Regions from separate parts of the Homo sapiens genome. Here regions 2, 3, 4, 5, 6 and 7 are each linked to region 1. Evidence: promoter capture Hi-C in 16 types of primary human blood cells and fetal thymus (Javierre and others, 2016). All regions are on one chromosome and are shown on one strand. Each heading gives the region's core, a stretch centred on a gene start or on the middle of the fragment in contact. The rest is flanking DNA. Distances are from core to core; before and after follow the strand shown. Region 1 holds the start of KCTD21 (potassium channel tetramerization domain containing 21). Region 2 holds the start of LINC02728 (long intergenic non-protein coding RNA 2728). Region 3 overlaps GAB2 (GRB2 associated binding protein 2). Region 4 overlaps INTS4 (integrator complex subunit 4). Region 5 overlaps GAB2 (GRB2 associated binding protein 2). Region 6 overlaps GAB2 (GRB2 associated binding protein 2). Region 7 holds the start of KCTD14 (potassium channel tetramerization domain containing 14).

Region 1 (4,105 bases), core at 858-3,357:
GGCACGTTCCTGGGCAGATGATGATGATCATAACAACAACAAACACTACAACGGCAATAATAATGGCTAACGTTTATTGAGCAGTTACTACCGTGCTAGGCACTCTATACATGTTAATCTCTTTCAATCTCACAGATTAAGTAGATACTATTATATACCTACTTTACAGACCAACCATACTGGGCCCTCTTCGACTTCTGCAATTTGGCATCTGCCATCCCCTCTGCCTGGACCTTGAAGACAAATCCCATGCATCGGCCAGGTCTCTCAGCTGGAATTCATTCCTTCTCCTCTGCATCTGCGGAGAATTTTAGTCTAACCCCTTACCACAGCCAACTTTACTTAAGTAGATGGATGCCTGGCTCCCTTGCTGGGGCTGGGGGTGCCCCTTTCTATATCCACAGAAGCACGTAGAATAGGGGAAGAGGAAGAAATTTCTCTCCTGTTTAGTCAGATCCATTTTCCCCACCTGGATTTTCAAAACTTTTTAATTTTGAAATGCTCTGTTCAATTTTCAATCTGGAATCTAAAGGGATGTGACAAGGCCGAGGTGATTACTTGGGAGTAAATGCAAGGAGAGTTTCCACTGCGTAAGGGAATGGACAGCACGTGGCTGGGTAAATTTCAAAAAAGACAATGCTCAGAGTGAGTACTGTGTTTTCCAGTAAGTGGGAGACTTCCCCACCTTACCCCACCGGAGAAAGGACTCTTTGCCTTGAAGCCCCTAGGACGACTACCCTTTCTTCACCTCCTCTTCCTGACCACCCCACATCAAAGAGCTGCGTCTATAATTCTGTCTTGCCCAGTCCATATCTCTAAGAAATCCGAAGGCTGCTCTATTACCATCACAACCCATAGGGAGGAGAGAAAAGGTGCTTCCTAGACACAGGGACCCCAGAATGAGCTGCGCAAAAGGCAGGAGGAGAGAAAGGTGGGCTGGAAGAAGGAGACCACGGAATCTGGCACGGCAAGGTATTCTTTCATCTGGCGTAGACCTCCAACAACCACTACCATCCCCCAGCCCCTTCCAGAACTTTCCTTCACCTTCTCGGCTCACTCTCACGCTTCACCTTGTGCTTTTCCTCCGGCACCAGCACCCCATTTCAAACCGCTCTCTTCCTATGTCTCCTCCAAACAGTAATTTATAAACACCGTGCTTTCAAATCCATCTCATTTCATCCTCACAGTACTATAGGAGGGCTGCCTTACAGGCTGTCATTCGGAAGGGTTGGGGGGACTGGTCCTGCCAGACAATTTGCGAAGGTCGGGGCATCAAAACTTTTCTTTCCTGCCTCCCACGCCAAGCTAAACCTCTGCCTCCCCGAGTGCAGGGAGAAAAGCAAGGTCTTTGAAGTAAGGAGTCCTGAGTGGTTTTAGGCAAGTCCCTTCGCTTTTCTGAGCCTCACATTCCTCACCTGTCAACCGCTATAGTGACGCCTCTACTTTTCAGGGCGTGGGAGGTCAATGAGATCACTGGTGTGCCGCACTGAACTCGGGGATGGACTCTTTATTTCCAGTCAGTAAAGGGAGGTGTTCTATGCATCACAGGCTTTTGCCCACGCCGCCACAGCGCGGCCGGCCCAGGGCTCTCCAGAGCGGGGCAAGTTCCCTGTCATCTGTGTCTCCGCCCTTCCTTCCCCAATCTCACCCAGGCTGGCCTCATCGGCTTGTTCCGCACCCACTCCCCAGCCCTACAGCCCCCACTCCGACCTGACAAGTGCCCCACCCCCACCTAGAGATCCCGCCTCTCCTTGCCCCACCCACCAAGGACTCCTCCCACAGTCCCGACCCTCATTATCCGGGCTTTTCCGACTATCACCATCCGCCCTTGCTCTCCCAACAGCCCCGCCCCTCTAAGAGCTCTGCCCACTTCGGCTCACCTCGCTCCGAAACGCGCCCCCTCCCCCGCACCACAGGCGATGCCATCCCCATTTCACAGATGGGAATGGCGAGGCTGGGATAGATTAGTCTCATGGTAAGACAGGTGCTCAGTGGGCCCACGTACCCTCGCCGGTAGTCCCCGAGCCCCGCGACCCCGGCCGTGCCGCACCCACCTCCTGCCCTCGCTCTGCAGCCTCTCCCTCCGCGAGCGGCCAGCGCAGCTTTGCGAGGGGGGCGGAGGGTAGGAGCCCAGCCCAGGGGCGTGGCGGTCCGGGGTCTGTGCGCTGCCTTCCGGGACTGGTAGTTCTCTCTGGGCTCCTCGCAGCTCGGCGCGTCGAGAGCGAACTCCATCTCCCAGGAGGCATTGCAGCGAGTTGCTCTGCGCCCCGCCTCGTCCCCGCCGGTGTCCGGCCGGCTGGCCTTAAAGGGGACGCGGTCAGAGTGGCAGCTCGCGGGGTGGCCCCCGCTCCGGCTCCGCCCCATTTCACGCACCTCGCCCCTCCCCATGCTTCATCCCGCAGCCCCGGGGCCGCGCCGCAGAGTCGGGCTTCCTGGATACATAGAGGCTTGTGCCAGGCGGGGTGGGAAGACTGGATTTTGCAGTGGAAGCAGCATCTCTTCCGTCTGGGACCTGGCTGAGGGCGTCCCCACCCTGGGGGGAGCAGAGGACCAGCCCTGACCTAGCCGGGCCCAGCCTCGTCCTGCCCGGCCTGAGCGCCCCGCCCAGCAGCCGGCTCTGGCCCACCGGGGTCCGGGAGGTAAGGGGGTTGGGGGCGTGTGACTGTCTTTGGGGGGCGGTGTCTGCACCCTGGCCTTTCGAGAACCCTGGACTTGCGAGCCCAGGGCTGGGAGTCGGGAGATCTGGGTGCATCCTGGGCCTCCTGGGCCTCACTGTGTGACCTTGGGCGAGTAGCTATTCCTCTCTGGGCATTAATCCCCTCCCTTCATCAATTGTATGTCGAAGTGATCCTGCTCCCTCCCCTTTCAGGTAAGAGGGCATTCGCACCCAGTACCTAGTACATTCGCTTGCTGGCTTTTCGTGGGGCCCTCCAGCTCAAGCGTGGGCTGGGCGCGGGTGCACTGGAGGGAGGGAGGTGGCACAAACTGGGGGGCCCGAGGCCACCATTGCTTGGAATGGGCTTTTCCTATTCTCAGTGTGCTGGGCCCTGGGATACCCTCCCCAACCCCCTCTTACGGCCCTGGCCCTTGCAAACCGGAGACCCTGATGTGTCAGCTTGGTGCCCTTCCTTCCAGAAAGCTTGGGGTGGAGTGCGGCCCTCACAGGTTTGTGAGGGGTGGCCCCGCAGGGATAGGTGTGTGTGGTGGGTTCCTGAGGAGGAATAGCTGCTCCTGCTTTCTTCCCTTCTCTCTCCTCCTTATCCTTTGAGGAAGAGCAGCTGCTTTTTACCAGTGAAACCCTTTTTTCTTTTTCTTTCCAGGAGACAGTTTGGTGGCCCAGACATGGGCCTCCCGGAGTAGGGTGAAGCACTTCTTCCCAGGGTTGCCTTGGGTAGAAGTTCAGTTAAAAAATACCTAGAGAGATGCTGCCATTCAGACACCTGAGGGGCCAGAGATGGAGGGCACCACCTGGTGTCGGGAGGGGCAGCCTGGTACCCCCAAGGAAGCTCTGGCTCCCAGGGGAGTCAAAGGAGGGAGGCTGGCTTCGAGGGTCAGAGAGGGGAGGAAATGTGCTCCTCAGCTCTTAGGTGCTGAGCAGAGGCTGGGAGGGGCTGCTCTGACCTGGAGCAGGGAGAGGTTGAGTAACACCATGAAGCCTTCTTCTCAGGTCCTAGGAGATTCTGTGAGCTTTTGACCTGAAGGCTAACCAGGAACAGATTTTTGTTTTGTTTTGTTTTGTTTTTGTTTTGTGCTTTTTCTTTTGCTTTGGTTGTTTGAACAATTTCTAGAATGGCTAAAGCCTCAGTCCAGTCCAGTGACCTCTGTAGGGGCTTTCTTGACTGATGTTTAAGATTTTCAGGGTTTTTGATATGCAAGACCAGGCCTGGGCAAAGGAGGGGGTGGTGACTGGACCAAAGGTTAGGCCAGTTTCTGGAAGGTACTTTTGTGGTTACATCTTTGGTTTTCTCTCATCTTGCTGTCACATGTCTCTCATGAGTTGCTTGACGCACCTTCACGGACACCTCAGTCCTTGGTTCTGTACTGGGCACTGGGCTCAGAGACGGGGATTGGACCTCTGCCAAGGGAGGTCCCAGCCTGGTGGGAG
Region 2 (4,105 bases), core at 1,146-3,645, 240 kb after region 1:
ATCATTCAACAATACTTACTGAGCATTTACTATGCACAGGCACAGGGCTAGGTGCTGGCGATGTGATGAACAGCATAGAGATGTTCTTCCGAATAAGTCTAAGTCACTGTATTCCAGAAGCAATGCCAGGAGGATGCCCTAGAAGTCACCTTCAGTAACAGACAGATAACTAAACTCATTACTACTTTTGATTCCTGCCTTTTGGTCCTGTGTTCAGGAAACAGCTCCAGGCAGATTTGTGCTGAAAGGGATAGTTTAAAATTTTATGAGATATTTCAGACACATAAGGAGGGAAAAGCTAGTTTTGGGAAATTTTTTTTTTAAGAAATATTTCCCTGTTGTCTGATGGACGTATTTCCCCCACCCTGTTTTTGGTCACCTTAATGATTCAATTGGTGGTTTCTAAATGAGTGCCCACTATGTGTCAGACACTCTCCAAGGCACTGCAGATATAAAAATGAATGCATTCTTATCCCTGCTGTCGCGGACCTCACATTCTGGCAGAGGAGACGAATGGCAGCATAAGACAACCGGTATTTGCATAAGGCGCTGAAGGAGCATAACGAAAGGAGAAAGTCTGGAAGCCATTGTCCAACCCTTGGTTTCCTGAAGTAAAAATGATTTCAACACTAACACGTGAAAATGCGGAAATCCTAGCTGCATTTTGGAGTGTCACCACTCTTGAAATAAAGCCTCATAGGTTCAGAAAATGTGATCAGAGCTGTTAATATTTTGATTCTGGGTGACTAAGAAGTGACAGGTGTGTAGCCTGAGAAAGCCACCCAAGCCCATTTACAGGCATGTGGAGACAAGCAATGTTGAGTCAGGGTGCAGGGTACACCCCAGCTCTATCGGCAGGACAGGTACCTGAGCAGGGGACTTTTAAAATCTTCTGTTGAGAGCTACTAACCCATCAGAAGAAAATCAGTCAAGAACTAAATGACAGTGAAACTTGACACAAAAATTTCCATATCGGATTTTTAAAAAAATGATTGTTGATCTCAACAAACAGCCCACTCCTACTTTTTGAGAAGCATTAACCAGCACAAGTTTGTACTTAGTAAACTAGATGTAAGTTGTTTTCAATACAATTGACATATCTGGCTGGGGGGTGGGGTGGAGAAAGGAAGGGGAAGCACCTGGATGTTGATACAGTACTAGGCATAGAAGGAACCAGAGTGGGAGATTAACACTTGCATAGAAAGAAGAAAACATTAGGAGAAGTGGTGGGGAGAAATGGAGTGAGGAAAAGAGATAAAAGTTGAGAGGTGTGGTAGTTTCTACACTGCAAGGGTTCCAAGGGGTATCACTGCAGGCTGGCCTTCCCATCCTTGATAGAGACACATAAAAACCAGCTCAAGCATGCAGAGAAAACAGGTAACTTCTTCAATGAGCAGATTTGTATAATTATTACTTACCGTTTAGTGTAAAAATATTAAAATCTCACTGCAGGTTTCTCAGTACAGAATTAAAATACTTACACTAGAATTACTCAGGGTGACTGTTTAAAACAATGTAAATTGTGAGCTAGTTCCATCACAGACCTACTGAATCAGATCTTCTGGTGGGAGTAAGATAATGTGAATTTTTAATACGCTCCGCAGTGATTCACATACACAGTAAACTTTGACAAGACTGTACAGAATGGGAGTCTCTGAGAGCAGGGAGTATGTCCTATTTGTCTCAGCACTCATAGAATCTAGCACGGGGATTGGGAGAGTGAGAGCTCAATAAAAGTTTATTGAACTAAACTGAATACACCTAATATACCTAAGAGTCTTTAAAGCAAAAGTCACTCAATTCCACTACCCTGTAATCCATTTTTTCCATATTCTAGTCTATGTACACAGGTTTTACACTGTTGTAATTGCAAACTCACCATTTTAGATTGTATTTTTCAATATATTTTCTCTTACAATTTTTAATGGCTGTAAAACATTCCACCCAACATGAATAAGTATCTCTGTTCATATAGATTTTGAGTTTTGAAAAGGTTTTCCTTAGGGGACCTTACATTTGTGCAGTGCTTGTCAGTTTATGAAACCCTTTCACACAATCTTCATTGCTTTCACAACACTCTGTAAGATAAGCATTATCCTCATTTTGCAGCTGGGTATACAGACTCAAAGATTAATTAACTTGCTCAAGCTTCTACACCTAGTAAGTGGAATGTCAGATTAAACCAGGATCTTCTCACTATGCATTTAATGCCCTTTCCAAGGCACCAAATAATTGGACCCAACAGTTTCCTGATGCAAAAACCTGTAATTTAAAATGTGGCAGATGGAAATTACATTTAAAGAGAACATTGGTCAGCTATATCCTAACTATATAGGAATCAGCTCCTGCCTCTTGGGGTATGGCAAAGAAAATGCATATATTAGTTGACAACTTCTGTGTAAGAACTTACTGTTCTTCAGCAATGCCTCATAACGCTGTCTGTATACGATCCAAGCCCATTTCTGCAATCCTCACATGAAGGGAGTTGGGACTGTCCCTGAACACTCTGACACTGTAATTAAAGTTCTTCGGCAACCACCACAGGCTGTAAGGCAGATAGGAAGGAGGCAGTGGAGACTTGAAAGCTCTTCTAAGATTGGTATCACAGGAAACTTGGGTAGCAGCTGAGTGAACAGGAGAGGGAAGCTTTTATGTACCAATAGAAATGCCCATTATAAGGACACACGACCTGATGAATAACAGAGGGGTGCAGCACTTCAGGGAAGGACAGACAGTCCACCTGAGCAGTTAGAGGTTCTATACTGGAAAACAGGAGGAGTTGTGTTTCTATTTTATTCCATTTGCATGATACAGAGAGACAGGTTTCCTTATTCTCAGGTAGAAGTTTCTAACAACCAGAGCTCTCTGAGGAGAGAAAAACTTCTTGGCTGGGTGTGGTGGCTCAAACTTGTAATCCCAGCACTTTGGGAGGCTGAGGGAAGCGGACTACTTGAGCCCATGAGTTTAAGACCAGCCTGGGCAACAAAGTGAGACCCTGTCTCTATAAAAAATTAGCTAGATGTGGTGGCACATACCTGTGATCCCAGCTACATGGGAGGCTGAGGATTGCTTGGGCCCAGGAGGTCGAGGCTGCATTGAGCCATGTACACATCACTGCACTTAAGCCTGAGCGACAAAGCAAGACCGTTTCCAAAAAATAAGGCTAGGCACAGTGGCTCATGCCTGTAATCCCTGCCCTTTCAGAGGCCAAAGTGGGAGGACTGCTTGAGCCCAGGAGTTCAAGACCAGCCTGGGCAACATGGCAAAACCCTGTCTCTACAAAAAATACAAAAATTAGCTGGGTGTGGTGGCTTGTGCCTGTGGTCCCAGCTACGTGGGAGGCTGAGGCAGAAGGATCACTTGAGCCTGGGAGGCTGAGGCTGCAGTGAGCTGTGATCACGTCACTGCACTCTAGCCTGAGTGAGAGAGTAAGACCCTGTCTCTAAATAAATAAATAAATAAATAAATAAATAAAAGATCTCTATTAAGATAGTGAGTTCCTATTCAGTGAAGCTACAATAGGTAAATTACTAGGAATCAGGAGAAATACAGAGGGGAGTAGTTCATATATCATAAACGGGAAGAATTATCTTCTTTCCAAGATTTTTCAAAACTAGGTTCCTAGGAAAATGGCAAACCAGCAATTCTTATTGAGCTAGTGTGTAGAGAAAGTTATGAATCAAAGAATCACAGTTGTAGATGGCTCAGGTTCGGCAAAATACAGTTCCAGCTGTGTACATGGGCACCTGTTGCAGAAAAAAAACCTTTGTTACACAGGCTCACCATGTATCTATTTTCAGATTATTACCTTGAAAAATCAAAGGTCTGTGACTTCGAGGAAGATATTAATAATTCCTATCAAAGTTTCTTTCATGTATCTTTCTATCCACAATTCAAAGATGATCCTAAAAGGAAGGTGGCAAATGTGAGTATAAACTGATAACAAATTGAGGCACAATGAGCTTAAGTACATTGCTGGGTCTAGGATCCTTTACCCCATTTTTAGTGTTTCTCTTTACTCCAATGTATTTGAGATCAAACATCATCTTCCTTCACATTCTCCTGTCCCTTCACCCTGGGTAGAACAAGGTCAAGGTGAGTATTT
Region 3 (4,105 bases), core at 566-3,065, 220 kb after region 1:
GGTGGAGTTCCCCTTTGGTGCTGTTCTCATGATAGTGAGTGAGTTATTGTGAGATCTGGTTATTTAGAAGTGTGTAGTACCTCTCCCCTCACTCTCTTCCTCCTGCTCCAGCCATGTAAGATGTGCCTGCTTCTCCCTCACCTTCCGCCATGACTGTAAGTTTCCTGAGGCCTCCCCAGCCATGCTTCCTGTACAGCTTGTGGAACTGTGGGCCAATTAAACCTCTTTTCTTGATAAATTACCCAGTCTCAGGTAGTTCTTTACAGCAGTGCGAGAACGGATTAATACACCCCAACAATATGCCACCTATAAGATATCACTTCAAATACAATGATATGGGTAGGTTGAAAGTAAATTGATGGAAAAGATGTATCATGTGAATATCAATAAAAGGAAAGCAAGAATAACTATATCATCAGATATAGGCTATAATATATCAAGTAGCCCTCAGATACTTGTATAATATATCAGATAACAAGTAGACCTCAGAGCAAAAGAAATTACCAGAGACTCAGCAGGTATTATATAAAGATAAAAGGGTCATGCCACCAAGAAGATGTTGCAATTCTAAATGTGTATATATTGAACAACAGGGCTGGGTGCGGTGGCTCATGTCTGTAATCCCAGCACTTTGGGAGGCCGAGGCAGGCGGATGACCTGAGGTCAGGAGTTCGAGACCAGTCTGGCCAACATGGAGAAACCCTGTCTCTATTAAAAATACAAAATTAGCCGGGTGTGGTGGCGCATGCCTGTAATCCCAACTACTTGGGAGGCTGAGGCAGGAGAATTGCTTGCACCCAGGAGGTGGAGGTTGCGGAGAGCTGAGATCATGCTATTGCACCTCCAGCCTGGGCAACAACAGCGGAACTCCATCTCCAAAAAAATAATAAAAAAAATAAAATATGTGAAACAAAAACAGATATAAGTGAAATGAGAAACAGAAATATTCACAATTATAGTTGGAAACTTCAACCCCTGTCTCTCAACAATCGACAGAAGAACTAGATAGAAAAATCAGCAAGGATATAAAAGAATTATATATATCACTATCAATCAAAAAGATATAATTGACATTTATGGAATACTTTACCCAATAATAGCAGAATAAACATTCTTTTCAAAGTACCCATGGAACCTAAAGCAAGATAGACCACATTTTCAGCAATAAAATAAACCTTGACAAGTTAAAAATAATTGAAATCAAATAGAACTTACTCTACTCCCACAATGAATTCCAACTAAAAGACAGAAACAGAAAAATAATGGGAAAATCTCCAAACATTTGGAAACTAAACAATGTACTTGTAAATAATCCATGGTCAAAGAGGAAAGTCTCAAGGAAAGTAAAAAAAATATATATATACTGAGCAAATAAAAATTGAAAATGCAATTTATCAAAATTAGTGGGACACAGCTAAAGCAGTGCTGAGAGGGAAATTCATAGCAGTAAATGAATACATTAAATAAGAGGAAAAGTCTCAAATGAATAAACTACTATATAAAAAAATCAGAGGCCAGGTGCAGCGGCTCATGCCTGTAATTGCAGCACTTTGGGAGGCCAAAGCAGGCAGATCACTTAAGGTCAGGAGTTTGAGACCAGCCTGGCCAATATGGTGAAACCCTGTCTCTACTAAAAATACAAAAATCAGCTGGGCATTGTGGCACATGCCTGCAATCCCAGCTGCTCGGGAGGCTGAGGCAGGAGAACTGCTGGAACCTGGGAGGTGGAGGTTGTAGTGAGCTGAGATCGTGCCATTGCACTCCACCCCAGGTGACAGAGTGACATGCTGTCTCAAAAAACAAACAAAAAATAATAATGAAGCAATGTCAGTATGCAAGAATAAGGGTTAAAAAAATAAAGCAGTGGACCCACTACAGACCCTGCAGACACTGAAAGCATAATACAGGATACTGTAACTCCACTCACATGTATGTAACAACTTAGACAAAATGGACCAATTTGTTGAAAAATGTAAACTTCTATAATTCAGCCAATATGAAGTAGATAATTTGAAGAACCCCGTATCTATTAAAGAAATTGGATTAAAAATGTAAAAAATTCCTAACAAAGACATTTCCAGATCCAGATGGTTTAATCTGGAGAATTCTACCAAAGGTTTAAAGAATTATACCAGTTCTACACCATCTCTTCCAGAAGGCTAGACATGGTGGTTCACACCTATAATCGCAGCACTCTGGGAAGCCAAGGTGGGAGGACTGCTTAAGCTCCGGAGTGTGAGACCAGCCTGGGCAACGCAGGGAGACCCTGTCTCTACAAATAATAAAAAAAAAAATTAGCCAGGCACAGCAGTACGCAGCTGTCGTCCCAATTACTTGGGAGGCTGAGACAGTAGGATCACCTGAGCCCAGGAATTTGAGGCTGCAGTGAGCCATGATTGTGCCACTGTCGCCAGCCTGTGTGACACAGCAAGATTCTGGTGGGGGTGGTTGGGGGGGGGGATGGTGGAAGGAGAAGAAAATAAACGAAGGAAGAAAGACATATATAAATAAATGTAAAATAAATTCATGGACTGGAAGATTTAATATAGTAAAGCTGTAATTTCTTCCCAAATTGGTACACAGGATTAATGCACTTCCTATTAAAATCTCAGCAAGACTTTCTTTTTTTTGCATAAACAAGATTATTCTAAAATTTGTATTGAAAGGTAAAGATAATAGAATAGCTAAAACACTTTGAAAAATAAGAATAAAGTAGAGGAATCAGGCTACCAGATTTCAAGACTTACAATATAGCTAGAGTTGGCAAGATTCTATGGTATTTGCAGAGGGACAGACACATGGAAAAATGGACCAAAACAGAGACAACAGAAACAGACCCACACAAATACGTCCAACTGATTTTTGACAAAGACGGAAAAGCAATTCAATGGAAGTAGGATGGCTTTGTCAACAACAATGACAACAACAAAAGAACCTCAATCTAAGTCTCACATCTTACATGAAAATTAACTCACAGTGGATCACGGACTTAAAGGAAAAACATAAACCTGTAAAATGTGTAGAAAAAAAAAAACCAGGAAAGCCGGCGCAGTGGCTCACGCCTGTAATCCCAGCACTTTGGGAGGCCAAGGTGGGCGGATCACGAGGTCAAGAGATTGAGACCATCCTGGCCAACATGGTGAAACCCTGTCTCTACTAAAAATACAAAAATGAGCTGGGCATGGTGGCGCACACCTGTAGTCCCAGCTACTCAGGAGGCTGAGGCAGGAGAATCGCTTGAACCTGGGAGGCAGAGGTTGCAGTGAGCCAAGACTGTGCCACCGCACTCCAGCCTGGGTGACAGAGTGAGAATCTGTCTAAAAACAACAACAACAACAACAACAACAACAAAGAGAATCACTTGAACCTGGGGAGCCGAGATCATGCCATTGCACTCCAGCCTGGGTAACAAGAGCAAAACTCCATCTCAAAAAAAAAAAACCTATATATAAAATACTCAAATTCTTGAAGACATTTGACCAAAGAGGATATACAGATGGCAAATAATCATATGAAAAGATGTTCAACATCATTAGCCATAAGGGAAATGTAAATGAGAACTAACGGGTGAATGGTTAAATAAACAGACTGTGTGGTACATCCATACCATGAAATACTACTTAGCAATAAAAAACAATAACTATTGATGCATGAAATGAGGATGAATCTCCAGAGAATTATGCTGAATAAAAAAAAGTTCAAAATCTTAAGTACTGCATGAATCCATTTAAATAACACACATGAAATATCAGAGAACAGATTAGTAGTTGTCACAGATTAAGGATGTGGTAGGGGTGGGATGGTAGTGAATACGATTATAAAAGGGCAACATAAAAAATCCTATCATGATGGAAATGCTCTGTATCTTGACTGTATCATTGTCAATATACTGTTGTGATACTGTACTATAATTTTGCAAGATGTTACCATTAAGGAAAACTGGATAATGGCTACATAAATCTTTGTTTACTATTTCTTACAACTAGATGTGCATGTAGAATTACCTCAAAATGAAATGTTTAATTTTTTTAAAAAGCCCAGGCTTTAGGACAAAGCTAGATGACTTTGGGTAAGTTGCTTCCCTTATTATAGGGCTAAATTACTA
Region 4 (4,105 bases), core at 739-3,238, 200 kb before region 1:
TAATGCCTGATCACAAAAAAAAAGTAGGAAAAAGCAGAAGCCAGAGTAGTTTTATCCACTAAAATATTAACATAAAATACCACATTTCTGGATAGAACAGAAGAAAGGGTAAAAAACACTATGGTCAACAATCTAGAACTGGGTCCATCTGGCATCCCTCCTCATTTCCTTAGGAGCTAGGGTCCACTTGATTAATGCATGCAGCATGGACTGGTTAAAGTGCTTGAGATCTGACATCAGAACACCTGAGTTAAATTTTGCTTTTAGACATGACAAAAGATTATGTTTTTTAAGAGTCTTCGCCACATTTATGCAGCCAACAGACACATGAAAAAATGCTCACCATCACTGGTCATCAGAGAAATGCAAATCAAAACCACAATGAGATACCATCTCACATCAGTTAGAATGGCAATCATTAAAAAGTCAGGCAACAACAGATGCTGGAGAGGATGTGGAGAAATAGGAACACTTTTACACTGTTGGGAGTGTAAATTAGTTCAACCATTGTGGAAGAGAGTGCGGCAATTCCTCAAGGATCTAGAACTAGAAATACCATTTGACCCAGCAATCCCATTACTGGGTATATACCCAAAGGATTATAAATCATGCTACTATAAAGATACATGTGCACGTATGTTTATTGCGGCACTATTCACAAGAGCAAAGACTTGGAAGTAACCCAAATGTCCACCAACGATAGACTGGATTAAGAAAATGTGGCACATATACACCATGGAATACTATGCAGCCATAAAAAAGGATGCGTTCATGTCCTTCGCAGGGAAATGGATGAAGCTGAAAACCATCCTTCTCAGCAAACTATCACAAGGACAGAAAACCAAACACCGCATGTTCTCACTCATAGGTGGGAATTGAACAGTGAGAACACTTGGACACAGGGCGGGAAACATCACACACCGGGGCCTGTTGGGGAGTGGGGGGCTGGGGGAGGGATAGCATTAGGAGAAATACCTAAAGTAAATGATGAGTTAATGGGTGCAGCAAGCCAACATGGCACATGTATACACATGTAACAAACCTGCACGTTGTGCACATGTGCCCTAGAACCTAAAGTATAATAATAAAAAAAGAGTCTTCACCACTTAAAGATATAAATCAAAATTTATGATTAAAATAATATGATGCCAGGAATTTATTTTCATAAGAATCTGGTGGAGAAGGTGAGGGTAAAGAAGTAGAAGTGGATTGGGGAAGAGGGAAAATGAAACAAGTTTGGCCACAAAATGATAATTTTTGAAGCCAGGTAATGGGTACATGGGAATTAATTAAACTATTCTCTTTACTTACATAGTATATATCTGAAATGTTCCATAACAAAAGGTTTTTTAAAAAAAAAACCCAAGTTCAAATCCATACCTTCCATTTACTAGCTGGGTGACCTTGGATACTAAACAGCTCTAAGCTTAGTTCCATATCTGGAATTTAGAGATAACAATGGTGCTGTCACCAGGATTAAATAAAATATTACATATGGAAAGTGCTTTCAAACTCTAACAAGCAATATAATGTTAACTGCTCTAAGAAGTATTATTATAGATGATTATTGGTAACAGATCTTTAATATAATAATAATGGTAGATATTGCTAAGAAAAAGACTAACGGAAAATAGATCACTGAGAGATCGAAAACTTCTTGAGAACAGAAATCCTGATTTTGGTCAGATGTGGTAGCTCACGTCTGTAATCCCAATCCTTTGGGAGGGCCAAGCAGGAGGGTTGCTTGAGCTCAGGAATTCGCGACCAGCCTGGGCAACACAGAGAGACTCCATCTCTACAAAAAAAATTAAAAAGAAAAAATTAGCCGGGAGTGGTGGCATGTGCCTGTGGTCCCAGCTCCTCAGGAGGCTGAGGTGGGAGGATGGCTTGAGCCTGGGAGTCCAGACTTCAGTGGGCAGTGATCACGCCATTGCACTCTAGATTGGGCAACAGAGCAACACTCAAAAAGATGCCAGGCACAGTGGTTCATGCCTGTAATCCCAGCACTTTGGGAGGCTGAGGTAGGTGAATCGCTTGAGCCCAGGAGTTTGAGACCAACCTTGGTAACATGGTGAAACCTCATCTCTATCAAAAATATAAAAATTAGCCAGTCTCATAACCCAGTCTCTAGATAGATAGATACGATTTTTTAAAAAATTTTTTAAAGAAAAGAACAACAAAAAAAGAAAGCCTGATTTTATTCACGTAAAACATAAGTGAAACATTTATAATGTCCCTTCAATGTTCCTAGGAACCTGCCAGGCACTGGGATAGAGACTAATGGATCTGCAGCCTCTGAATTTACGGAGCTCAAAGTCTGAAGGAGATAGACACATATGGCAAACAATTGCAACGCATAAGACTTAACAATTGTGCTAATGGACACCGTCCAGTGCCCAGAACAAAGTCTGATATATATTTGTTGAGTAAAATGTATCACAAAAGCATCAATTAATTCATTTATTCATTCAACAAATATTTATTTTACCAGGCACTGTTCTTGATTCTGTAGAAACAACAATTAAAAAACATAAAAATCCCTGCTCAAGGGAAGCTTATGTTCCTGCATGGGGAAATGGACAAGGAACATAATTAACAAGAAATTATACAGAATATTAGAAGATGGTAATTACTATGGAGAAAACAAAATCAAGGAAGGGGACTAGGAAGTGCGGGGTGGGGATAGGCAGTTTCGATATGAAACAGAAGGGTAAAGGAAGACCTCAATGTAACGGTGACATTTGCATGCTGATAGCTGCAATATGAAGTACAAGTCACCATTTATAACATAGTCTTAAAATTGTCAAAAATATGCTTAACTTAAATCTAACAAAGCCTATAGATCTAACTTTCAGTTCATAGTAAATACAGAGAACAGAGGAACAAGTTAATCCTTAAAGAAGTAAATGAATTCAGAAAACAAGACATTTTACAAAAGAACTGTCTCAGTTTCTTCATCAAATCAATGTCACCAAAATAGTAACTGTTGTAGATTTTTGAAAAGACTGAATGCCATGTGGGGACCTGGTTTGCATTTTGATTTGAATACATCAACTATAAAAAGGTACTGGGAGAACAACTACAGAAATCTAAATATCAACTAATTCTTAGATGACATTAAAGAATTACTTAACTTTATTCATTAGGGTTAGGTGGCTATGTTAAAAAATAAAAAGTCCCTCTACTTTCTCATAGCAGTGAGAAAAAAAAAGAAAACAACAAAAAGGTATCCCTTTTTAATAGATATGTAATGAAATAATTAGAAAAAAATGACATATCTTTTTAAAAATTCAACAAAACAAGGCTGGGCGCGGTGGCTCACACCTGTAATCCCAGCACTTTGGGAGGCCGAGGCAGGTGGATCACCCGAGGTCTGGAATTCGAGACTAGCCTGGCCAACATGGTGAAACCCCATCTCTACTAAAAATACAGAATTAGCTGAGCGTGATGGCGCACTCCTGTAGTCCCAGCTACTTGGGAGGCTGAGGCAGGAGAACTGCTTGAACCCAGGAGTGCTATTACACTCCAGCCTGGGCAACAGAGTGAGACTCATCTCAAAAAAAATAATAACAAAATAAAATAAAATTCAGCGAAAAAATAGAGCAAATTTGGCAAAATACTAATAACTGTTAAATTCTAGGAATGGATATTTGGTAGGTCACTATAGTATTTTATCTACTTTTCCATAAGCTTAACAATTTGGGGGCTGAGTGTGGTGGTTCACACCTGTAATCTCAGCAATTTGGAAGCCCAAGGAGGGTGGATTGCTTGAGCCCAGGAATTCGAGATCAGCCTGTGCAACATAGCAAAGCCCTGTCTCTACAAAAAAAAAAAAAAAATACAAAAATTAGCCAGGCATGCTGCACATGCCTGTAGTCCCAGCTACTCAGAAGGCTGAGGCAGGAGGATCAATTGAGCCTCGGAGGTCGAGGGTACAGTGAGCCGTGATAGCACCACTGCACTCCCGCCTGGGCGAGAAAGCAAGACCCCATCTCAAAAATAATAATAGTAATAATAATAATGATTTTTGGGCTGGGAATGGTAGCTCACGCTTGCAATCCCAGCACTTTGGGAGGCCAGGGTGCATGGATCACTTGAGGTCAGG
Region 5 (4,105 bases), core at 486-2,985, 190 kb after region 1:
ATCAGAATTTCAATACATGGTTTTGGGGGGACACAAACATTGAGTCGGTAGCAGGGAGTACAGGGGACCGGCATGTTGACCAGGCAAGTTTAACTCACTTTATTTTGAAGAACGTGGTAGCAGCAGAAAAGCCTATTATGCTTTGGAGACAAGTGGACTCAGCTTTATATGGTCCTGGGCTAGTTTCTTAACTTGAGCTTGTTTCTGGCTGACATGAGAATATTATCTATCGCACAGTATTGTAGCAAAGATTAAATGAGATGCAATCGGCTCATACCTGCAAAGTTTACTTACTACGTAGTTAAGTACACAATAAAATTTACACTTCACTCTCTCTCCTACTTTCTTATTTTCCCTCCACCCTGCCAGAGATAAGGAGGATGAATCTGCTTCAGACAAAAAGCAAGTACTGAATAACTGGATACTTGTTTTACTATCCAGCACTGCTTCCCTTTCTCATGGAGGAAATTGCTTTCCACGAGATGCAAACATGATTCTGAGCGAAGCTGTCACTCATCCCTCTCCACACCTACCACGTGAGTGTCAGGTGAGGCACAGGTAGCTCTAGTCTGACTACCGTAGTTTCCAATTCCCTGGCCATAATGGCTCAGTCCAGGGGTAGAATTATGGCCCCAACTGTCAGTATCCTTCCCTAGGATTTTAAATTTGGAGTTCTAAAAGTAAGGACCTTGCCTTTTAGGTTACAGAGATGAGAGGACTGAGGGTTGCCAGTGATCTCCTTTCTTATCACCTATAGACAGCTTGCCTACAGGAAAAAAGAAAGCCAAACACAGACAAGCAGTATGAGATACAATGAGCGCCCTTGGGCCATTAAAATATGATTGTGTGCCCAAGGTCGCCTGGTATCTAGAAAATTTTCTTCCATTTTCTGAGCTTCCTTATTATCATACCATTACATTTCTATTTCTTGCTTAAATTTACCTGAGTTGGTTTTTGTCATTAGCAATTCCAAAAGTCCTTAAAACATGAATTTATATTTTATGTCAGACTTTTCTGCAAGGTGCTTTACAGTCAAGATCCCATTCAATTCTCATAGCAACCCTGATGTGAAGGCATTGGTTCTCTCTTTCTCCCTTCACCCTGACTGCATATCTGTGATGGTGTGAACTTCTTTGTAAGCCTAGGATCAGAGTACAGGATTCATAGTCACTTTTTTCTTTTTGTTCTTTTGTTTTGTTTCTTTGAAACAGGAGTCTTAATGCTCAGGCTTGTCTTGAACTCCTGGCCTCAAGCAATCCTCCTGCCTCCATCTCCCAAGTAGTTGGGATTATAACCACGAGCCACTGTGCCCCATAGACACTTCTTATATTTAACCAAATCATATGGCAGAATAGAGGCCTTATATCCACTTACCATACCAACTAGAATACACTCAGACTATACCTGCTTAGATCACATGCCCAATCCAAAATAATCATGGTGGCTGAGGGAATGCAATGTGCTAACTAGCCAAACCTGAAGCTTAGGATAGATGGAGCCAGCTTCCCCAGAATCACACAGATGTCTGAACACAAATTAAGGTGTTGCAAGGAAGGAGAAAGGAGATGAATTTAAGAGAAGCAATCAATAAGTGTTCGTTACATACAAGGAAAATTGGAATCAAGTTATTAAGATCATCCAGCTCTCTGAACCATCTGATCAGTAACTCCTCCTGTTCACATTACTTCCTGTTGTGACCTCACGCTTCTTCAGACTAATTTAAGACTGTGGTTCTCCAGAGGCTTCAGCTATTCTCCACAGAGAAGCTAGCTGATTTGTCATGACTTCTAATCACTCATCCTGAGTACCAAATTGAAATGCTGATTTGGCAAGATTATTAAAAGATCTCAAGGCACTTTCCAGAACATAAAAGACTTGGTTAAAAGTAAGTATCTCTTGAGTCAATTAAAATGTCCTTGGCTGTCTTTCTTGCCTTGGTTTCCTCCTTAGTAAGTGTAAATTCAAAATAACAGGGAAATAGATAAGGTAAAGCTTCTTTTTAGGAAAGGGTTTTCTCACACAGTTGACCGACAAGACAGATTTCCTACTGGCTGGACTGATAACAGTGAGCAAATGGGTCCTGATACCTTCACCATCCTATGATTTTCAACAAGCTACTATATTTCATTAATTCAAATTCAGTTCTATTTTAACATCAAAATCAGAATGTTTCCTACTGTTGAGAGTGTCTTACAGTTAAGCTGCAGTCAGGACACAGCTGTCATTGCCTGCACAAGAGTGTACTTGGTTGTCATGTCTGTCATTGTGACTGAACAAATACAACCCTGAACAAATAAATCAAGGGCCATTTTAAGGAGAAACATGAATTTCAGTAGTTGTGAGACTTTTTGCTAAGATCTTCTAGTAAGACCAAGAAAGTGCCAAAGTTGAAACTTGCAAAATACGTGTCAGTAACCTGAAAGAAAAATTTGAAGACAATGTTGAATCATTTTTAAGAAATGTTGCACCATCAATACTCTTGATGGCATGCAGGGCAGTTATTATGTAGGCAAATATGGACAATGAATTAAAAAGTGATTGAAAGCTAGAATTGATTATGAAGTAGTTTTAGAAATTTCTTTACCAATGTTTCATTTATACTTTTCTTTTTTGTGTATGCAAGAGAGTGCCGGACTATAAATCCATGTCCGCATAAGTCTACAAGCACTCTTTCAATAAGGTATTTATTCCCCTGCTTAGTGGAATATAAAATAATTGTGAATGACATTGAATGAGAACTTTTTTTTTTTTTGAGACGAAGTCTCGCTCTGTCGCCAGGCTGAAATGCAGTGGTGTGATCTCAGCTCACTGCAACCTCCGCCTCCCGGGTTCAAGTGATTCTGCCTCAGCCTCCCAAGTAGCTGGGACTACAGGTGCGTGCCACCATGCCCAGCTAATTTTTGTATTTTTAGTAGAGACAGGGGTTTCACCACGTTGGCCAGGATGGTCTCAATCTCTTGACCGCGTGATCCGCCTGCCTCGGCCTCCCAAAGTGCTGGGATTACAGGAATGAGAACATTTCTAAGGCCTCATTTGAAAATTGGGATGACAAAGACTCCCTAATAGCTGTAGAATAAAATGCAAATAAAACACAGCATTCAAAGGCCTCTATAACATTGCCTAAATCTACATTTTCCACTCTTGTCTCCTATCACACTTCCAAGTCCACTACACACTGTGAAATTAAATAATTCAAACTGAAAGCTATTGGAACTTTAAATTATTCGGAGCCTTGGGAGGAATGTGGCTATGCAGCCTGAGTCACATGTCATGCAGCTGCAACTTCTGCCCCCATTCCCCACCCCCAAACCCCCCACCCCGTAATTAAGACCAAATGGCGCCAGAGATAAGACCATCTCAGAACGTTGTCCCTCCTCATGGAGTAATCTTCCTTGGAATGTAGGAATCTGTAACCAGTCAAATCACTGTAACGTATGCACTGGTCTTGTATGGGAAATGTTGTAATCCTGTTAAAATTTCTGTGTCTCTGCCTATGTAAGTGAAACCTTATCTTCTCTACTTTGAAACTCTGACCCCATTCATTTGGAGTCAGTGTCTCCCAGGTGGCCATACTTAAGCTTTGTACTCAAATAGACTCTACTTAATCGTATTTTCTGAATCTCACTATTTAAGGTTGACAATACCAAATTATACACATTATTCCTTGAAGATCACCTGCTCCTTTTCACTTCTGTGCCTTTAAGTTGTTTCTTCCACTGAAAATGTCCCATCTCCCATCCATCTCATTTACTAGAAGGTGGTCTTGAATAGCTTCTTTAATCTCTCAATTCCTCACTTTTCTTATCTTTGAAATGGGAATCTAACTTTAGGTTTGATTTGAGGATTTAATGAGCTAATACATATAAAGCACTTAACACAGACTCCAACTAACCTGTGGTCAAGCAGTATTTATCTGTGTCTTGAGAGATGAGTCTCAAAAAAGTAGTGAACTAGCCAAGGGCACACAGCTTATTTAACAGCTAAGGCAGAGTAAGAACTTAGACCTCCTCACTCCCAGTACAGAGCTGTCTTTAGATTTAAGAAATGGCTCTTCCTCCTCCCACCTGCTACAGCCAAATACTGCTAGACTGGTAAAAAAGGTTCT
Region 6 (4,105 bases), core at 773-3,272, 170 kb after region 1:
TCCTAATCCCTGGAACCTGTGAATATTACCTTATATGACATAAAATGTGATTAAGTTAAAGGTCTCAGACCCTTAGGCCATATAAGATAATATTCATAGGCAGCACTTCTCTTGGAGAATTCAGGGAAACTCTAAATGTAATCATATGTATCCATATAAGACAGAGATAGAGGAAGAACAGACAGAGGGACAGAAGAGAGAGGAGGAAGAGACAGTGTGACCATGGGCAGAGATTGGAGTGATGCAACCATGAACCAAGGAACATCTGGAGCCACCGGAAGCCAAAAGAGGCAAAAGATTTTCCCCAGTGCTTTCAGAAGGAACACAGCGCTGTAACACCTGGATTTATTCTCTCCTGAACTGTAAGACGATAAATCTCTATTGTCTTAAGCCAACAAATTTGTAGTCATTTGTTACAGCAACTACAAGAAACTACTAAGGGCCTGGCATGATAGCTCAAGCCTGTGATCCTAGCATTTTGGGAGGCCAAAGCTGGCACAGTACTTGAGACCAGCCTGGACAATATGACGAAGCCCTGTTTCTGTATTTAAAAAAAAAAAAAAGAAGAAGAGGAGGAGGAAAGAAAAAAGAAACTAATACAGAGAGTAAATATACTGCTATACTTTAGGCCAAATTAAAAAATTAAAATGTATGTGCTGATAAAGAGCTCAAATCTCCCTAAATGAATTTATTAATTTAACATAAACTCAGTAAAAACACCATTTTTTTGGCCAGGTGTGGTGGCTCATGCCTGTAATCACAGCACTTTGGGAGGCTGAGGCAGGTGGATCGCCTGAGGTCAGGAGTTTGAGACCAGCCTGGCCAACATGGCGAAAACCTGTCTGTACTAAAAATACAAAAATTAGCTGGGGGTGGTAGCATGTCCCTGTTAATCCCAGCTACTCAGGAGGCTGAGGCTGGAGAATCGCTTGAACTTAGGAGGCGGCAGTTGCAGTGAGCCAAGATCTTGTCACTGCAGTCCAACCTGGGCAACAGAGCAAAACTTCGTCTCAAAGAAAAACAACAACAACAACAACAACAAAAAACCCACCATATTTGTTCTAAATAAGAGAATACAATTGTAAAGTTCATAAAGAAAAACAAGAATAGCAGAGGACACTATTACAACCATATGGTAAAACACACCTCATTAATCAAAACAAAGCGTATTGCTATATATATTTTATAAGTATACAGACTAATGGAATTTAATACTTAGTGAGTTCACAAATGGTTACTAATGCATAAAATGCTTAGATTATGATAGAAGTAGCACCTCAAATCCATGGGAAAGATTTAATGACACTGTTAAAAATAAAGCTGAAACAAAGTTGAACCTGTACCTCTAAGCATAGATCAGGAAAAATTCCAACTGGATCAGATTTAAATGTAATATAAAATGAAATTATAAAACATAGTACATTTCTTTTATAGCCTATAAGAGGGAAAGTCTATTACCTAAAATCCAGAAACCATAACAATGATTGTTATAGTGACTACACAGAAACCTATAAATCTAAAAATGAAAACTATTTTCAAATCCTGCATGGCAACACGGACACACCCCCCCACACCCACACAAATGCCTATGGACAAAGCAAGGAAAAAAATGGTAACTTGGGTTAGAAGTCATAAATATTTCGCTAAAATTCACAATTCCTATTACAAAGGGCTAATCTCCTACATAAAGAGCTCCTACAAATCAGTAAGAACATTAACCCTGCAGAAAAATAAGCAAATGTTCACAGACAAATAACTATAAATGATTTTTAAACATGTGAAAAGATCAATGTTGACTTACAAAAGGAATACAAATTAAAAATACACTTAAATATTACTTTTCTCTCATTAGACTGGCAAACATACAGAACTTTGGTAATCATCTTGGCAAGACTGTGGAAAAAGAGGCAGGAGTGTAAATAGTTACAAACCCTCTGGAGAGCAATGTGGCAAAATTACATATAATCTACCAAAAGTGTAAGAGTATATATCCTTTAACCAGGCAATGCCAGAAACTTATCCTAGAGATAAACTAACATGTGCACAATGACATATGTGCATTTTGGGATCTATTTAAAAGAGTAATATTGAAAACAATGTAAATGCTCATCAGTAAAGACTTAGTTATGCCTTCACCAATTGATGTACTACCACTCAGCTGCTTTTTAAAAAGGCATGGGGAAGAAAACTGTTCATGTATCAATATGGAAAGAGCATCAAGATATATTATGAAGTAAAAAAAAAAAAAGCAAGTATAGAGAAAGTTGTCCTTTATTTGTATAAATGGAGGAGTTAATACGTATTTGTATGCGTATTTATAATCTCTATTAGATATATTCTAACATATCTAATATGTTAACAGGCCAACATACATTATAAAGATAAATACACCAGGTTATTAGAAATGAGCAGATGGTGGCAGAAGGATAGAGAAGAGACTTCTCACAGTATACTTTTCAAATATTTTGTGTTTAAGCCATGTGCATGTATTATCTATTAAATTTAAACATTTTAATAAGTATGCATAATAAAATACCTAGAGTAACTTCTAATGAAGTAGTTAGAGTGTAACTTCCAAATAAGCAGAGGGATAAAAAGGAAATTAGAAAAAGGAAACAAAATGTTCAATCCAAAAGGTAAGATTAAAAAAAACAACAGAAAATTTCAGTGTAAGGTAAGGTACAACACTACACGGTTGCAACAAATCAAAACATTTCCATAATCACAATAAATGTAAATCAATTTAATTCACCATTTAAAAGATAAAGCCTGTCTCACTGTATTAACCACAATAAATGTGAATTAACTAAATTCTCAAGTTAAAAGAAAGACTTTCCAGACTAAACAAAAACATAATCTAGCTACATACTGTTTTTTAAAGATACACCTAAAATACAAGAGCACAGGTAGGTTGAAATCAAAGGATGGAAAAAATTACATAAAGCATATACATTACTCAAAAGAATGCTGCTGCAGGTATATGACTACCAAGCAAAAAAAGATATTAAGGTAAAAAGGCAAAGAGGGTCAGGCACTTCACAAAGATAAGAGGTTCAAAGGCCCAGAAGTCATGTACTTCTAAAAAGTATGTGTACCTAGTAATATGGCCTCGAAATATATAAAGCAAGAATTGCCATTACTATAAGTAGAAAGTGACAAGTCCATTACATAATGGGAGATTTTTAAACAACCTCCCAGTAACTAATATAAAAAAGATGAGGCTCCTTTTGCCAACTCAAGTTAACCTTCCTTGGAACTAGATCACCATATCAGATACACAATTTCTTACTTAATTCCTAAGAAAATTAATCAGAACGGAAAGACATTCTTCCTGTCTGGTTCTGGTGACCAGTATTCAAACACAGAAATGAGAAGTTACACATGAGCTGCATAAGCAACCACATAGCTAGAGACTAACACTAATGGCTTTGTCAGCAATTCTGTGTGCTTATGCTTCAATTAATCTCTAAATTCCTCAAGGGAAGATGTTGGTCTCTTACACACATTTGTATCACTTCCCATACCTACCACACTGCCTGGTATATAGTAGGTGCTCAATAAATGTTTTATGAGTCATCTACTAAAATACTCCTCTTAAAAATATGTATTCTCTCCAACATCTATGAAGCACCTATTACATACCAGGTACTGTGTTAAGTACTGAGAATACACAGATGAATAAAAATGTCTGCTTTCCAGGGGACCACAACCTAGTAAAAGATAAATAGAAATATATTTTCTTTTTTTTTTTTTTTTGAGACAGGGTCTCACTTTGTTGCCAAGGCTGAAGTGCAGTGGGACACCCACAGCTCACTGCAGTCTTCACCTCCCAGGCTTAGGCAATCCTCTCACTTCAGCCTCCCAAGTAGTTGGGACTATAGGCACGCACTACTATGACCCTGCTAATTTTTGTATTTTTTGTAGAGATGGGGTTTTGCCACGTTGCCTAGACTGGTCTCGAATTTCCAAGCACAAAATCCACCCACCTCAGCCTCCCAAACTGCTGGAAATGTAGGCATGAGCCACTGTGCCTGGCTTAGAAATACATTTTCTTAAAAAGCTGTAAGTAGAGTTTTAAATGGAGTGGTAGATATACAAGCCCAGT
Region 7 (4,105 bases), core at 756-3,255, 170 kb before region 1:
CTAGGTGACAGAGGGAGACCCTGTCTCAAAAAAAAAAAAAAAAAAAAAAAAAAAAAAAAGTTTCCTGCACTGACATCTTCAGCTCCATTTCTTTATCAAACAAGACCTCAGCCGTGTTCCTAAGCTTCTTTTTGTTTTTTGTTTTTGTTTGCTTGTTTTTTGTTTTGAGACAAGGTCTCACTCTGTTGCCCAGGCTGGAGTGCAGTGGTACAATCTCGGCTCACTGCAACCCCCACCTCTTAGGCTCAAGCGATTCTCCTGCCTCAGCCTCCAGAGTGGCTGGGACTACAGGTGTGTGCCACCATGTCCAGCTAATTTCTCTATTTTTTATACAGACAGGGTTTTGCCATGTTGGCCAGGCTGGCCTCGAACGCCTGAGGTAGGTGGTCCACCCACCTCTGCCTCCCAAAGTGCTGGAACTACAGGCATGAGCTACCACGCCTGGCTGAGAGTACGTTTTCTGAAGTACAAATCTGATCCTGTCACTCCCTGCATTAAACACTTGAGTAACTTTTCATTCCCTTCCAGATAAACAGCAGACTCCATAACAAGGTTTAGAGGCCCTTTGCAACTAGGCTGCTACTTCACCCCTCGCAATCAACTACCAGAACTGCCTGCTGCTCCCCACTCCTCCAATCCAGAGCTGGGCAAGCCCCCTCACCTCCAGAAGCTCACTCACTTGGCCATCCGCACTCCTTTCTCTGACCCCACTCATCCTTCAGATGAATTCCTCTGGGAGTCCTTCGGGGTGGGTTGTCTCACTGTGATCCCAGAAAGTCCTACACTACTATACTTCCACTGGCCTGGCAGTTCTTCCCTTGCAATTCCCTGTTTCTTCATTGACTGTGAGGTTCCTGGCCAAGTGCTGTGTTTCATGCCTGTAATCCCAGCACTTTGGGAGGCTGAGGTAGGAGGATTGCCTGAGCCTAAGAGTTTGAGACCAGCCTGGGTCTCACCAACATGGCGAGACCCCATCTCTATTTTAACAAACAAACAAACAAACAAAAACTCTGTGAGGCTCCTAAGGGAGGGGAATATCCTCTGATTTACAGGAGCATCTAGTATTCTGTTCAAGGCCAATCTTGCCCTACCTGGCATCATGCACAGTGCCTTACACTTCCCCAGTAATTCATTCAGGCATTTATGGAACACCTAGGGTGGTCCTGGCACTAGGCATGTGGCTTTGTCAATAGCCAACAACAATGACGTGATCATGGCCCTATTAGAGAGAGCCACGCTGCCCTGCTGCTGGATCTGCTTTCTCTTCCTCCAGGTCTTCAGGATGACTCTCAGTGCAGGAGAGAACCCGAATGTTCTGCTCCCAGAGTGCACGCAGCCTTTTCCCCATCCTCCTCCCCAACTCCCCTCACCCAAGCTGGGGACCAGGCAGGCAAGCAGAGGGATTTGGGACCCAGCCAGAGGGCAGGGGCAGGCTGAAGACCCAGCCAAGGGGCAGGGGCAGGCTGGAGAGGGCTGCAGGTGAGGGAAAGATCCTCTGGCCGAGCTGGTTGGATGGGCTTCTCCCACCGGGAGCAAGGGAGAAGGTGGGGCAGAGGAGGAGTCGTGGGCTAGGACAAGCCGGTGGGGAAGAGACAAGGGAAAGGAACTAAAGACCCAATGTAGAGGGAGGAAGCAAAAGGGCAAAGAGGAAAGGCTGGACAGAGCCAAACCAGAAAGGGACACCGAGGCGCGAAAGGAGAGTGATCCCAGCAGGAGGGACGGCAAAGATTGAAGAGAGCGACCAGCCCGAGGTGAAGGGGGACAGCGCGCCAGAAGCAGGGGGCTCGGGCGTCTGGGAGGGACGGGCAGGAGAAACTGGAAGGGAGGGAAGAGGCGGAGGGAAGAGGCGGAGGACAGAGGCGCGGGGACGCAGCTAGCCTCGCACTTACCGTTGGCCGCCTGGGCCGGGGGGACTGGGGCAGAGGGGTCTGGCTCGTCATCCTGCCCACTGGCCGCTCCACTGCGCAGCCCTGCCACATGCAGATCACTTGGGCCAGCGGAAGTGCCCCTGGCTGCCCGCCCCTAGGTGGGAACACCGAGGCTCAAGGCGGGACGGGGCTGAGCCAGGCGTGGCTTGCAGTGAGACTGGGCCAAGTGCAGAAAGAAATGGACAGTCTGTCTATTTGGGGCTTCTAAAAGTTGTTAGGCCCTGAGAAGGGCTGACTTTGGAGACCGAGAAATGGAGCAGACCCCTTAAGGACTGACCTTTTGATATAGATTAATTTCCTTCCTTTTCTTTCTTTCTTTCTTTTTTTTTTTTCAGAGACAGGGTCTCACTCTATCGCTCAGGCTGAAGTGCAGTGGCGGATCAGGCTCACTGCAACCTCAACCTCCTGGGCTCAAGTGATCCTCCCACCTCAGCCTCCCAAAGTGGTGGGATTACAGGCCTGAGCCACGGCAACTTGCCTCTTCCTATATTTTCTTTTACGCTTAAATAAATTACTTAAACATATTGCTTGAATCCCGTTATTAAAGTTGACATTAGTTAATGCCCCTCTCTGGGCCTCGGAGTTCCCAGTAGTGAAATGGGGGAGGCAGAAGGAATTGACATTGACTGACATTGACAACCAGAGACTTTCTATTCCCTACAGTCCTAGGGAGTGAAAGATCCGCAACACCCATTTTACAGATCAGAAAACTGGCGCTCTAGGAGGTAGGGTGGTGTTAAAATGTAAAGTCTGAGGATCAACAAAACTTTTTTAAGAGTATACTTGAGTAACAGGCAATTCTTGAATCGGGGAACACCAGATGGAAAGAGGTTGAGTGTTCCCATGACAATGCATCAGAGGCAAATATTTATGGGGAGAATATGGAAGCAAGATATTTTGTTGGGGACAGGCATGGTGGCTCACGCCTGTAATCCTAGCACTTTGGGAGGCCAAAGCGGACAGATCATTTGAGGTCAGAAGTTCGAGACCAGCCTGACCAAAATGGTGAAACCCCGTCTCTACTGAAAATACAAAAATTAGCTGGGTGTGATGGCATGTGCCTGTAATCCCAGATACTGTGGACGCTGAGGCAGGAGAATCGCTGGAACCCGGGAGGCAGAGATTGTAGTGAGCTAAGATTGCACCACTGAACTCCAGCCTGGGCAACAAAGATTCCCTCTCAAAAAAAAAAAAAAAAAATATATATATATATACACACACACACACACACACACACACACACACACATATATATATATATACATATATATATATAAAATTGGTTACAGTTAAAAAATCTCCTTTTTTGGTTTCCTTTGTTGAAAAGTCCACAGCTACTTAATTGTATGTTAGTTGGCTGCTTGTGGTTGGCTAATGTTAAGTTTCGTTTCTGTCTAACATTAGCATTTACCAGAAATGACTCTATTAGTCAGGGTTCTACAGAGGGACAGAACTAACGGAATAGGGTTGGACACGGTTGCTCACGCCTGTAATCTCAGCACTTTGGGAGGCCATGGCAGGTGGATCACCTGAGGTTAGGAGTTCGAGACCAGCCTGACTAACATGGCGAAACCCCATCTCTACAAAATACAAAAAATTAGCTGGGCGTGGTGGTGGGCACCTGTAATCCCAGCTACTTGGGAGGCTGAGGCAGAAGAATCGCTTGAACCTAGGAGACGGAGGTTGCAGTGAGCTGAGATCAAGCCATTGCACTCCAGCCTGGGCAACAAGAGTGTAATCCCATCTCAAAAAACAATAATAATAAAATAAAACTAATGGTATATATACATACACATATATTTGTATATATATATTCCATTACTTTTTTAACTCCCCGTTATATATATACATATGTGTGTATATATACACACACACATATATACACACGTGTGTGTGTGTGTGTGTGTGTGTGTGTGTGTGTATATATATATATATATATATATATATATATATATATAAAGGGGAGTTTATTAAGTATTAACTCACACAATCACAAGGTCCCATAACAGGCCATTGGCAGGCTGAGAAGCAAGGAGAGCCAGTCCGAGTTCCAAAAATGAAGAACTTGGAGTCTGATGTTTGAAGGCAGGAAGCATCCAGCACGGGAAAAAGATGTAGGCTGGGAGGCTAGGCCAGTCTCTCTTTTCACATTTTTCTGCCTGCTTTATGTTCTAGCC

What was found. Contacts are between HindIII fragments. The CHiCAGO score rates a contact against its expected background, and 5 or more counts as called.
Region 2: a fragment that was not itself captured here is called in contact with the fragment with the promoter of KCTD21 in region 1 in 17 of 17 cell types (fetal thymus, activated CD4 T cells, naive CD4 T cells and 14 more); the score reaches 20.5 in fetal thymus.
Region 3: a contact is called between a fragment that was not itself captured here and the fragment with the promoter of KCTD21 in region 1, in 13 of 17 cell types (neutrophils, naive CD4 T cells, activated CD4 T cells and 10 more). The highest score is 14.3, in neutrophils.
Region 4: a contact is called between a fragment that was not itself captured here and the fragment with the promoter of KCTD21 in region 1, in 9 of 17 cell types (naive CD4 T cells, activated CD4 T cells, total B cells and 6 more). The highest score is 7.3, in naive CD4 T cells.
Region 5: a fragment that was not itself captured here is called in contact with the fragment with the promoter of KCTD21 in region 1 in 10 of 17 cell types (activated CD4 T cells, neutrophils, naive B cells and 7 more); the score reaches 10.0 in activated CD4 T cells.
Region 6: a contact is called between a fragment that was not itself captured here and the fragment with the promoter of KCTD21 in region 1, in 4 of 17 cell types (neutrophils, fetal thymus, non-activated CD4 T cells and 1 more). The highest score is 8.4, in neutrophils.
Region 7: the fragment with the promoter of KCTD14 here is called in contact with the fragment with the promoter of KCTD21 in region 1 in 2 of 17 cell types (M0 macrophages and endothelial precursors); the score reaches 6.1 in M0 macrophages.

The regions. Positions count from the first base shown.
Region 1 is chr11:78,186,519-78,190,623 of GRCh38, forward strand. It overlaps KCTD21 (potassium channel tetramerization domain containing 21), which reads right to left and starts at 2,108. Exons shown (of 2, transcript NM_001029859.3): 1 at 2,055-2,108. It overlaps USP35 (ubiquitin specific peptidase 35), which reads left to right and starts at 2,401. Exons shown (of 11, transcript NM_020798.4): 1 at 2,401-2,639. RefSeq lists silencers at 1,825-2,164, 2,595-2,754. The HindIII fragment of the contact is 4,363 bases long and covers 1-3,137 here.
Region 2 is chr11:78,427,290-78,431,394 of GRCh38, forward strand. LINC02728 (long intergenic non-protein coding RNA 2728) reads right to left here and starts at 2,547. Exons shown (of 4, transcript NR_120564.1): 1 at 2,411-2,547; 2 at 20-241. RefSeq lists an enhancer at 1-25. The HindIII fragment of the contact is 498 bases long and covers 2,147-2,644 here.
Region 3 is chr11:78,408,710-78,412,814 of GRCh38, forward strand. The region is part of intron 1 of GAB2 (GRB2 associated binding protein 2); the gene reads right to left. Among named protein-coding and RNA genes, the nearest start is that of GAB2, 7.1 kb to the right of the region's middle. The HindIII fragment of the contact is 9,698 bases long and covers 1-4,105 here.
Region 4 is chr11:77,985,904-77,990,008 of GRCh38, forward strand. All of the region lies in intron 2 of INTS4 (integrator complex subunit 4), which reads right to left. Among named protein-coding and RNA genes, the nearest start is that of INTS4, 6.7 kb to the right of the region's middle. The HindIII fragment of the contact is 1,128 bases long and covers 1,425-2,552 here.
Region 5 is chr11:78,377,475-78,381,579 of GRCh38, forward strand. All of the region lies in intron 1 of GAB2 (GRB2 associated binding protein 2), which reads right to left. Among named protein-coding and RNA genes, the nearest start is that of GAB2, 38 kb to the right of the region's middle. The HindIII fragment of the contact is 510 bases long and covers 1,481-1,990 here.
Region 6 is chr11:78,359,847-78,363,951 of GRCh38, forward strand. All of the region lies in intron 1 of GAB2 (GRB2 associated binding protein 2), which reads right to left. Among named protein-coding and RNA genes, the nearest start is that of GAB2, 56 kb to the right of the region's middle. The HindIII fragment of the contact is 6,004 bases long and covers 1-4,105 here.
Region 7 is chr11:78,021,271-78,025,375 of GRCh38, forward strand. It overlaps KCTD14 (potassium channel tetramerization domain containing 14), which reads right to left and starts at 2,006. Exons shown (of 2, transcript NM_023930.4): 1 at 1,890-2,006. The coding sequence starts at 1,979. The region is part of intron 2 of NDUFC2-KCTD14 (NDUFC2-KCTD14 readthrough); the gene reads right to left. LOC124902723 (a long non-coding RNA gene) reads left to right here and starts at 1,273. Exons shown (of 2, transcript XR_007062795.1): 1 at 1,273-1,751; 2 at 2,264-2,452. RefSeq lists enhancers at 795-1,362, 1,363-1,932, 1,933-2,500. The HindIII fragment of the contact is 5,224 bases long and covers 123-4,105 here.